4 separate regions of the Homo sapiens genome follow, and all the other regions are linked to region 1. Evidence: promoter capture Hi-C in 16 types of primary human blood cells and fetal thymus (Javierre and others, 2016). All regions are on one chromosome and are shown on one strand. The core of a region is centred on a gene start or on the middle of the fragment in contact, and the rest is flanking DNA. Distances in the headings are between cores, read along the strand shown.

Region 1 (2,700 bases), core at 84-2,583:
GTGGCCTTAAATATGCCAATGATTGCTGTACTCAGGCTGGTGTCCCTGCAGCCCCACAGTGGGGAACACTGTGGCCCTGTTTGCTTCCTCCATCAGAGAGGTAACCCATTTTCACCCCATCTGAGAGAACCTCCTTGGCCAACTTCACTGCCAGGCACCTGAGGGTGCAGCCTCACCCAAGAGTTCCCATTTCATCTATTCACCTCCCTACTCCCATCAGCCAGTGGGGAACTTCTGAGCTGAACCCACATATCTGTCCCAATTATTAAAGGAGTCGATGAGAGTGAGCGTCTCCACAGAAGAGACACTTCTAGGATATGCTTCCCTCACTCAATTCAAAAAGAGGAGACTTTTCTCCTTTACAGGAAACATCTCCGGAACCCGACCTTTTCCACTCCCTCATTTCAGGGGCTTCCCTCAGTTGAATCCCCACTCCCAAAGAGACATCCTCGGGGCTCCCAATTCATCTGTTCTCCCTCATCCAATATCAGAGGCTTCCACCAACTGCCCCACTCGGACCTTGTCCCCTGAAACCTAACTTGAAGCAATCCATCTGTATCCTCGAACAGGAGACTGGTAATGATGGGGTCATTTCACTATCACCGCTATTAGGTCCCTCTGGCATCTGAATCCTTTTCCCTCCTCTCACTTATCATGCGGAGACCCCCTTCATTCTCCCCAAAAGCAGCTGCTCCAAGGCTCCTCCTTTCTAGTCAACATAGCTATTTCCTCAGCTAACCCCATCTCTAAAACTAACGCCGGAGCCGTTCCCTCAACCGATAGGGGATCCTCTCAAGTCACCCCCTCAGGATCCCGTTTCTTCCATCCAGCCTGAAGGGCTTCTCTGATGTCCCCTCCAGACATCCCAAGGCCCCTCTCAGCCGCACCCCTGGCACCCAGTATGGGACTTCCATCCGCTGTGGGGCGCCTCCTCTAGGGGACCTCTAGATCGCCCCTTAAGAGTCGCCAGCCCCGGTATCCTCAGGAGTGCCTCGGAGCTCGCTCCTCGCCCACTCCGGCTCCCCCAGACAGCACAGAGGGCCCTCACGCCTCCCGGGGGAGCCTCAGGGCCTCGCCGCGCCGCCCACAGGCCCCTCAGCCCCCCGCCCGTGCTTCCGGCCACCGCCTGCTCCTCCTCCCCCGGTCAGGCCGCGCCGGTGGCTGCCGCGGAGCCCAGCAGACAGAGGCGGCGCGGGGACCCTGGCTCCGCTGCAGGAGGCTTTGAGGGTCCCCGGCCCCCGGCCCAAGCCCATGCCCCCTCGGCCGGCCGGGCCCGGCGCCCCCGCTCACCCGAGCCCGTGGTGGCTGCCATCTTGCGTCGCTCTTGCTTGAAGGCCGGCCCCTTCTTCACCCCCCCCTTACCCGTCCCCCGGCCCTGATGCGCAGGCGCGCGCGCACGCACATACGCCGCCGCTGACGCCCGCCCCGGAGACCTGCACGACCCGTGGCCTGGAAGGCTCTTTTCCTTCCCTTTTAGAGAAAGGAAATATCTGCGTGCTCGAGGGCCCAGCAACCTGCAAGTCCCCACACATCGGGTGCGAGGGAGGTTGTGATGTGCTTAGTGAGAAGGGCAGGGGTGACTAGGCTTGGGAAGGCGCGATTGTGAAAGAAAAAGAAAATATAGCTTCAAACAAAAGCGCCGAATTCGCTTGGGGCTTTTTCCTGTCTAGTTCCTATCTAGATCCTCACCACATCTCCGCAAGGTCAGAATTAATGTGAAAAATGCAGCCGAGAGAGATCAAGCGATTTATCTAAACTCAGCTGTTAAGTGGCAGAGACAGGCAGAATTTTAACCTCCAGGTTCAAATTTTTTGAATCATCACCCTCCAGGTCAGATGATCTGGCTCCTAGGATTGATGCTCCCCGGCCAGAGAAGGCTTGGAGTGGGTGCAGCTAAATGATTTAGGGGCATTAAGGTGGCAGGGAAAGCATTTGCTAACCATCTACCCAATTCATTCATTCATTCATTCATTCATTCGTTCATTCATTCATTCAACCAAACAAACAAACATTAAGCACCTACTATGTACCAGACACTGTGCTAGGCGCTGGGGATGGATAGACATCTCTGAAGAAGCAAATCCCTGCTTTCAGGGACTTACATTCTAGTCGTAGACAGCAAGTAAATAAACAGGAAACTATAATTCTGATAGGGTAGAGATAAACCAAGACAAGAGCAGCAGAGGATGGTCAGGAAGGGCCTCCTAAGGTGGTCATATTTCAGCAGAGACCGTAACAATGAGGAGGTAGAGGGAACAGCTTGTGCAAAGGCCCTTGGGAAATATTTTTGCAAATAAATAAACCCAAGAAGGTACTCCTCCTTTATTATAAATTGTCTGAGAAGCCCTTATATGGATGTAGACACTGAGGCTGAGAGAGGTGAAGGGACTGGCTTAAGGTCACAGAGCAAAATACTGGCAGAAGGACCAGGACTCTAAACATAGAGGGACAAGGAAGCTGGAAGCCCTCACCCAGCACATCCAATTCATCACCTTTGTCTGATAGCAGTGCCTACTCTGCATCTCTCCACTCCGTTCACTTCTCCACTCAGGGCAAGCTGCCTTTATCTCCCACTTGGAAGACCCCAGCAGCTTCCATTCTCTCCCCTATGGCCCATTCTCCATATAGACCAACATCTGCTCAAAACACCCTCCAGCTAAAGCCTTCAGTGGCTCCCCATTCCCTCTGGATAAAATACAA
Region 2 (2,943 bases), core at 16-2,515, 350 kb after region 1:
GAACACCTTTTTCCCCTATCGGCAAGGCCAAGATCAAGAAGTCCAATCATACTTGGCCTTGGCTAGGACGTGGGGAAACCAGAGCTCACGGAGGTTGCCGGTGCAAATGACGATTGGTAGGTACAACCTTAGAGAGCATTTAGACAACCAGCGTCAAAATGTTTAAACGCACCTGCCCTATGACTGGGCGATTCAGTTGCTAAGAATGTATCCATCAGAAATAGCTCTGAATACATGGAAAGACTTCTGTGAAAGGGATACTAATTGCAGCATTGTTTGTTGCAGAAAAACCCTGGAAATACCTCCGTGACTATCACCAGAAAACTTGTTAGATAAATTATTATATTCAGACAATGGAATGTGCAAAGAATGCTCTCCTAGTGCTGATCTGGAAAGATCTGCCAAGGTACATTGCTAAGTTGAAAAAAACAAAATCCCAGTGCAGAACAGGGTGTGTGGTGTGCTTCTATTTAGAGAAATGAGTACAGGAATCCACGCACATATTTGCTTATCTGTGTTCTGGATGTCTCTGTAATGATCCCCAAGAAATGATAACCAGAATGGATTCTGGGGAGGGAAGCTTGGAGTTTTAAAGCTGGGGATGGGGGTTAAGGATTAGAGGGAGAAGACCCACTGTAAATCTTTTGGTATCTTTTGAATTTTTGCATATGAATACAATCCCTTGTTAGTTTTTAAAAATGGAACTTTTTAATGCATTGATAGATGACAGAGAGAAAAATGCCTTGAAGGATATGCTCCAACGTGTCAATAGCACTTATCTCTGGGTGGCTGATGTGAATTAGAAGCGACTTTTATTTTGTTCTTTTTTTATTATTTCTCTAATCAATTATTTATTTTGAGACAAGATCTTGCTCTATCACCCAGGCTGGAGTGCAGTGATGCGATCACCACTCATTGAAACCTCTGCCTCCTGGGCTTAAGTGATCCTCCCAGCTTAGCCTCCTGAGTGGCTGGGACTATAGGCACTTGCCACCATGCCTGGCTGATTTTTTATTTTTAATTAAATTTTTTTTTGTAAAGACGAAGTCTCACTAAGTTGCCCAAGCTGGTTTTGAACTCCTGGGCTCAAACGATCCCTCTGTTTCAGCTTCCCAAAGTGCTAGGATTACAGGTGTGAGCCACTGTGCCCGGTCTGTTCTTTTTAAAAAATACAGAGACAGGGTCTCACTTTGTCACCTAGGCTAGAGTACAGTGGCATAATCATAGCACCCTGCAGCCTTGATCTTCTAGGCTCAAGTGATCCTCCAGCTTCAGCCTCCCAAGTAGCTGGGACCACAGGCATGCACCACCACTTCTGGCTATATTTTGTTCTTTTTACTTAGATTTTCTAATTTAAAAAAATAATTACCAGCCGGGTGTGGTGGCCCATGCCTGTAAATCCTAGCACTCTAGGAGGCCGAGGCAGGAGGATCATTTGAGCCCAGGAGTTTGAGACCAGCCTGGGCAACATAGTGAAACCGCGTCTTTACTAAAAATACAAAAAAAAAAAAAAATTAGCTGGGTGTGGTGGTGCTCACCTGTAGTCCCAGCTACTCAGAAGGCTGAGGCAGGAGAATCACTTGAACCTGGGAGGCAGAGGTTACAGTGAGCCCAGATCACACCACTGCACTCCAGCCTGGGCAACAGAGCGAGACTCCGTCTTAAAATAAAATAAAATAAAATAAAATAAATAATTATCAAGGTATATTCAGATAATTTTTTTAAAAATTAAGTAAGTAAACACCTCAGTGTTCTCTTGGTAGTCAGGGGAAAACTAACTTCTACATGAAAAAAAGAAAAGACCAAAAACACATACACTTCTCTAAACAGGCAGATTATTTTCATTGCCAAGGACATTACAGAGACTGAGGAGTGGGTTGGAAATATATTCTATGAAAAATCGAGAATTAATACAACTGTCCTACCATGCACTTTCTGGGCATCAAAACGCCAAGCTTCTAACTCAGACCTGAGTTCAAACTCTGACTGCCACTTACTAGCTGGGCAAGTTGCTCCTACGCCGTTGGCCTCAGTTTCCTCATCTGTAGTCTGAGACCACATTGCTGCTGGCAGGCTCGAGTGAGATCATGCCTGTGAAGTACTTGGCTCAGGCGTACTCAGAGACCCAGTTCAAACAGGGAACAGGCAGAAATTCTGCACCCCGCAAGGGTGACAGGGCGGAGGGAGGACAGGAGGGGCCGCTTTGCCGGACTGGGGATCAGTGTGCAACTAGCTGGGCCCGGAGTCCCCCACAAACCGGCCAGCTCAGAGGTTCTTCCGACAGTTTGGAGAGAGTGACACCAAGTGGCCAAGTCTGAAACTACACCTTCAAGCCGGAGGGTTAGAGCCTCTCCCCGACCCCTCCAGCTGCGGTCCTGAGCCAGGCACTGAACTTCCCTGAATCTGAGTTTTTTCAGCTGCGAAATGGAGGTAATCCTGCCTACCTGGCAGAGCGGAGGTGGGAATTAAATGAGGTAACCCGCAGAGATTCTCTCCAGGACCGCCATGTTGCACAACTTCAGGGGCCCCATTCATGAAACTGTGCAACATAGCGGCACCCCTAACAGGTGGCTGTCATTATCATCCCTCCCTCAGACACTGAGTTTCCTTCTCTACTCCCCTAGAGCGATTCTGAAGCTGGGTCTTCCAAAGTATAGAACAAATACCAGTGGGATTCGTGGGGAGATCTTGGTGGGCACAGCACCCCAGTATCAAATAACATTTCATTCTCTGTCAATCATTCTGATGGCATCTAGGCGGCAGTCTCAGTTTGATAGGAACATGACATTAACGCCTTTCTAACACTTACCTGCCTCCCTTCCGAACTTTCTGTTTGAGAGTGGGCCTCAGACTTAGTGCCTTCAGAAGGCAAAATTATTTGGCTAGAATTTAATAAAGTTACATGTTTTCATAATATTTACTTTTTGTGGTCACCTTCTATTG
Region 3 (2,700 bases), core at 10-2,509, 440 kb after region 1:
GTCTTGAACTTGTGACCTGAAGTGATCCGCCCGCCTTGGCCTCCCAAAGTGCTGGGATTACAGGCATGAGCCACCACGCTTGGCCCAAGTATGTTTATTTTTAAAGTCCCCAACAAGCTATACAATAAATTGCATATGGAATGGATTTTTGTTCTAGTTGATTTGTTGGTTATCATTTGTAGAACTAACTAGTTGTCTTCTGTGTTTGATACCTTGCTTCTAGGTCATTTTGAGTTGGGAGCCTTTTGTTTTGTTTTTATTCTCATGCTGTTTTTGAGCCTAGCTGTGCCTTTATGGTTTTCTCTAAATTTAATTGACCATTGTTTTATATTTGGAGCAGTGGGTGTACATCAGAGTGTGAAAGCAGCCCCACCCTCTCCACCAGAAGGTCTCCATGCCAGTTTCACGAAGCATTTTTCATGCCCTCATTCCTGCCCTTATCCCTTGATTTGTGGGGAGTTTGTAAAGCAGTTGATTGTTTTTTTTCCACGTAGTTTTCCAAGTGCACATAATTGTTCTGTTAGTGACTTGTAGCTCCATTATCTATTAACCTTGCCCCAGACCACTGTACAAGCGGACCCAACGCTTCCTCCAGCTGTGGCAGGGACAGTTACTTGGTATCCTGCTGCCTTTTCAATGCTGACCAGTTTTGCCCCTTCCTCCCCTCAACCCCTGTCTTTCATTCAACTATCACCAAACCAAAAGATTCTGGTTTGCTTTTTAGTATGTGTTCTTATTCAGTACATAGTCATTTTAAAATTTAAACCAAAACAGACTTGGTACTGATTAGCTTAATTTTAAGCTTTTTCTTTATTATTAAACAGTGTAGTTTATCTTAGCATTTCATATTAAGTATATGATTTATTTCATATTGCTTATATGAATGTACACATAAATATAATAAAAATATTTTCCTAAGGTTTTTGTAGTAAATTATATCGTTTCATTAACTTTCATATATAGCATTGCTTTTGACCTGGAAGACATTGAACCTCTGATGATTTGTATATTCCTCGGAGTATACTTTGTTACATAGAAATTTTCTCATTTATAATGAGATTTGTGATTAACAAAATTTGTTCAACATGCATTACTTTGAAGATCTGGTTTCTAAAATTTTATGCTAGTTACCCCACCCCCCCTTCTATATATATCTCCCTATTCAGCGACTACTGCAAGAGTTCCAGGAAATGTACACTGTGTGTTCACTTACTGCATTTTAAATCATTGCCTTTACTATATTTCTGCATTTCCCTTCAATCTAGCTCTGTCTGTACATTTCTGAAAGCCAGTAGCTTCCCTGAAGAACCAGGTAACAACCCGAACAATCAAATTAGATAACCATTTGTAGAATGGAGGTTCCGGGAGATCTTAGAAGATGTGATGGGTGCTAAGGGACTTTGTAGTTCCCTGAAGTTCCAGTGAGTAAAAGGTACCCTTGGAATTTTTTATTCCTTCAGACTTTTAAAACAGAGATCACTTTCAAAAATTACTCTTTCTGCTTTGAATCCATGTTTTAGTAACTATTTTGACACTGTTTGGTCAGAAGGCTGTGTGGGTCAACTGCAAATAAATAAAATAAATGTGATTTCAGTAATTTCCATTTTGTAACAAGTAATTGAGAAAATAGGATTGGATCAGATATTTGCTTATACACATTCCCTTTCAGGAGCACTTCTGTTCTATAAAGAATGTTGGTATATTGTTAAGGACACTTCAAGCTTTGGGAACCTTTGAAGTATCCATTGATTCAGTTAACAAAATTATGTTGAGTGCCTACCCTGGGCCTGGGCCTGTGTTAGGAGGGGACACTAAGATGAGAGTCCAAAGCACTTCTTCTCAGACTCCTGGCTGCTAATGGGTTGCTGCCTCTACTTCTTCACTTAGCAGATAGCTTTAAAATGAGTAATGCATTTTACCATGGAGCCCGTAAGAGACATTCACCCAGTTGTGGACCGAGGAGAAGGGTGTTAAACCCAGATTGTGATGTTTCACTTGATGAAGTGCTTAATATAAACATGGAAATATTTCCGCAAGGATAAACTGGCTTTTATGCCTGTGTGTTTTCAGGAGAAATAGAAATCTCTAATCAAATATTGCCAGCTTTTCACCCAAGTTTGACTTTTTGCCTAATTGAGTTTGGGAGGTGTCTGAATAATGGATAATGAGCTTTCCTGAATAAATATAAAAATTAATTAACTCCAGGCTCTAATTCATTCTGTTACCAGAGTTTTGTAAGCATGTTACCCCTTTGTGTTCATTGGGAGATCATCTGTTACCTTCTTAAATGAGTGGGGAAGGATGGGAAATGAGGAAGAGCTATAAAAACTATTCAGGTGAAGAAGGTTTCTGCCCCTCCTTGCCCCTTTTAAAATCTCCAGCTCAGCAGATGCTTTGTTTAAACTTGATCAAGTGCTTGTGAATCTTCCTAGCCTAGCTAAATCATAACTTTGGAAGGACTTGCTTTTTTCTCTCATGACAATGGTTTACCACAGAAATGATTCAGATCACTTTGTGTGCCTGATGCCTATGTAAAATGATACAGTGAAATGGAAACCATTTACCTGTAAGCTTTGGGCACACCCAAGCCTGCTTCAGGAGCACATGATCAGGCGTGCACTCTGGGAGAGCCGTACACATTTGACATCTATGATGTGTGGCGTTTTATTCTATCACATTTCTGAAATCTACACTAAGAGA
Region 4 (3,050 bases), core at 230-2,729, 380 kb after region 1:
CAGATCTGATTCAAAGTTCTTTTAGATCCCCTGGCCCCATGTCACCCAGTTCAAGCCAGACTCATGATTCTAGTGGCTTGGAGCTGGGACAATGGGTAGGGGGAGCAGGAGAAGCAAGACGTGCTCTCTTTCCCCTTCTCCTTGACGCCCACGGTAGAATGGGCATAAGGATGGGCTGCCATTCTGCTGAAATGGCTCCACAGCGAGCCGTGAAGGAAGGTGGCTGACCCCAACTGCTGAATGACCTTTGAACTTAGGCCAAGAGACTCAGAGCACCCCTAACATCATCCTGTTGCACATGTAAAGTGCCTAGCACAAAGCAGGTGTGTAATGGGGGGGGAGGTGCTAGATGGAGATGCAATATTTTTGATATCTTGAGGACTAAAAGTCGGGATGATCTGCTCTTTCAAATATGCCAGAAATTTTTGGATTCATAATCAGTTGAATAATTGATTTCTATTTGAAGCCTTTTAGTTAGACAAAAGGAAAAGTGATAAGTCTGCCATCTTCATCTGAGTTCCTCCAGAAGCCAACTCTGAGACAAGGATTTAAATGCAAGTAATTTATTCCTGAGGAGATCCTTGGAGGCAGCAGGTGAGGAGTGGGGAAGTGACCACGAAGTTTCTGATTTAGGACAGTGGTGAAAAGTTGATGCAGGTGGCTTCTAAAAGATCTTGACTTCCAAGGCAACTAGGGCTCTGGGGAAGGAATATGGCTGAACTTCAGACCCATAGGGCTACAGGAAGATAGAGACAGAAGACAAAGACCATGTACCAGTTAGCATGCTCTCAACTGCAAGTAGCAAGCCAATCCAAAGTGGCTTAAACAGTAAAAATGCTCCTGATGTCTTCAAATAATGTCTTCAAATAATGTCTGGGAAGGGACATGAATGAGCATGTGGGCCAGTGGGGCTCAAACCCACCCATGTAAGGGCCATGCCTCCACATTGCCATACCTGAGAAGCAAGGAGCTGGGGTATTTATCTCTTTCGCACTTTGGGAGGCTGAGCGGGCGAATCACCTGAGGTCAGGAGTTCAAGACCAGCCTGGCCAACATGGTGAACCCTGTCTCTACTAAAAATACAAAAAGTTAGCTGGGCGTAGTGGCACATGCCTGTAATCCCAGCTACTTGGGAGGCTGAGGCAGGAGAATCACTTGATCCCAGGAAACAGAGCTTGCAAAGAGCCAAGATTGTGCCACTCCAGCCTGGGCAACAGAGTGAGACTCTGTCACCAAAAAAAAAAAAAAAAAAAAAATTGATAAAAAGAGAAAGAGAGAGACAGAGACCTCAGAAAGACAGAGTGAAAGGGAGGGGTTAGAATAAAGGGAGGATGAAGATCGAGATGAAGTGACAGAGAGACCTAAGAACTTGTGAAAATGTGCTTACCAAAATGTGAGCAGTGGCCAGGCGCGGTGGCTCACGCCTGTCATCCCAGCACTTTGGGAGGCCGAGGTGGGCAGATCACAAGGTCAGGAGATCGAGACCGTCCTGGCTAACACGGCGAAACCCCGTCTCTACTAAAAATACAAAAAAAAAATTAGCCGGGCATGGTGGCGGGCGCCTGTAGTCCCAGCTACTCGGTAGGCTGAGGCAGGAGAATGGCGTGAACCCGTGAGGCAGAGCTTGCAGTGAGCCGAGATCGCACCACTGCACTCCAGCCTGAGGGACAGAGTGAGACTCCGTCTCAAACAAAAACAAAACAAAACAAAAAACACACACACAACACGTGAGCAGTGACCAGCACAGGTAGTAAGAGTTAAAAGTAAGTTGTGGGCCAGGCGCAGTGGCTCACGCCTGTAATCCCAGCACTTTGCGAGGCCGAGACAGGCAGATCATCTGAGGTCGGGATTTCGAGACCAGCCTGACCAACATGGAGAAACCCTGTCTCTACTAAAAATACAAAATTATCCAGGCATGGTGGTGCGTGCCTGTAATCCCAGCTGCTAGGGAGGCTGAGGCAGGAGAATTGCTTGAACCTGGGAGGCAGAGGTTGCGGTGAGCCAAGATCGCTCCATTGCACTCCAGCCTGGGTAGCAAGAGTGAAACTCCGTTTAAAAAAAAAAAAAAAAAGTAAGTTGTGTCTCTTTTATATGCACTTTTCAAGTTTTCTTCATTAAATGAGTATTCCTTTTGTGATAAGAAAAAGAAATAAGAACAACAAAAATGTCCTACCTCCAATGCTAGAACTTCCAGCTCTGCGTGTGAAAACACCCACTTTAAATTGCTTCTCTCTTTAGTTCAACCATGTTTCTTGAAATGGTTTGAATACAGGCAGAGTTTCCTTCTCTCCCTCCTTCCTTCTTTTTCCTTTTTTTTAAAGGAGACCAAAGTCAGAGTTGCCTCAGTGCTGACCCAACATTGAGGCTGAAAGTGGGTACAATAAGGGTAATTTAAGAAGGCAGGGATTAACAGCTGCTTTGGAAATGACAATTGGGTTAACCTCTTCTTCATTCTCACTCTCTCTCTCTCTCTCTCTGCAAGAACCATCTTGCCCTAGAGGAATGCAGGAAGGCAGTGGGGAGGGAAAATGACTCTGTTTAGGGAGGTGATAAAATGGGATGTGATGATTAATTCTTCATATATTTATTTGACAAGCATTCAGGGAGCACCTCTTCTCGCCCAGGTCCTGGGCTAGGCCCTGGGGACATAGCAAGATGAATACTACAGGATCCACGACTGTGAGGGCTGAGAGAGACACACGTGCAGATTGCTAAGACCAATATGAGAGGATCATTCCATACCCAAACACAGAGTTGCATGAAGGCCGAGGTTCTGCTTTCACCCCACCAGATACCAATTTCGCTCCTGAAATGAAGAAGTAAGGAGTGACCAGAGAGAATCTTATTTAGCAGGCAGTGATGATAAGTTAATACAGGTAGTTTCCAAAAGATCTTGACTTCCAAACAACTGGTGCTCTGGGGAAGGAATGTGTCTAAACATGAGACCCATAGGGCTAAAGGAAGGTAGAGACAGAAGACAAAGACCCTGTATCAGTTAGCATGCTCTCAGCTGCAGGTAACAAAAAAACCAACCCAAAGTGGCTTAAGTA

The links. The method cuts DNA at HindIII sites, captures the fragments that hold promoters and counts their contacts. A CHiCAGO score of 5 or more calls a contact.
Region 2: a fragment that was not itself captured here is called in contact with the fragment with the promoter of UBE2V1 in region 1 in 3 of 17 cell types (total CD8 T cells, M0 macrophages and total CD4 T cells); the score reaches 5.9 in total CD8 T cells.
Region 3: a fragment that was not itself captured here is called in contact with the fragment with the promoter of UBE2V1 in region 1 in 1 of 17 cell types (monocytes); the score reaches 5.5 in monocytes.
Region 4: a fragment that was not itself captured here is called in contact with the fragment with the promoter of UBE2V1 in region 1 in 3 of 17 cell types (monocytes, neutrophils and naive CD8 T cells); the score reaches 6.9 in monocytes.

The regions. Positions count from the first base shown.
Region 1 is chr20:50,111,817-50,114,516 of GRCh38, forward strand. UBE2V1 (ubiquitin conjugating enzyme E2 V1) reads right to left here and starts at 1,334. Exons shown (of 4, transcript NM_001032288.3): 1 at 1,291-1,334. The coding sequence starts at 1,312. The region is part of intron 5 of PEDS1-UBE2V1 (PEDS1-UBE2V1 readthrough); the gene reads right to left. RefSeq lists a silencer at 862-1,401 and enhancers at 1,572-1,681, 1,686-2,253. The HindIII fragment of the contact is 8,664 bases long and covers 1-2,700 here.
Region 2 is chr20:50,462,126-50,465,068 of GRCh38, forward strand. No RefSeq gene overlaps it. Among named protein-coding and RNA genes, the nearest start is that of PTPN1, 47 kb to the right of the region's middle. The HindIII fragment of the contact is 1,375 bases long and covers 579-1,953 here.
Region 3 is chr20:50,548,933-50,551,632 of GRCh38, forward strand. All of the region lies in intron 1 of PTPN1 (protein tyrosine phosphatase non-receptor type 1), which reads left to right. Among named protein-coding and RNA genes, the nearest start is that of MIR645, 36 kb to the right of the region's middle. The HindIII fragment of the contact is 919 bases long and covers 801-1,719 here.
Region 4 is chr20:50,494,420-50,497,469 of GRCh38, forward strand. No RefSeq gene overlaps it. Among named protein-coding and RNA genes, the nearest start is that of PTPN1, 14 kb to the right of the region's middle. The HindIII fragment of the contact is 8,989 bases long and covers 1-3,050 here.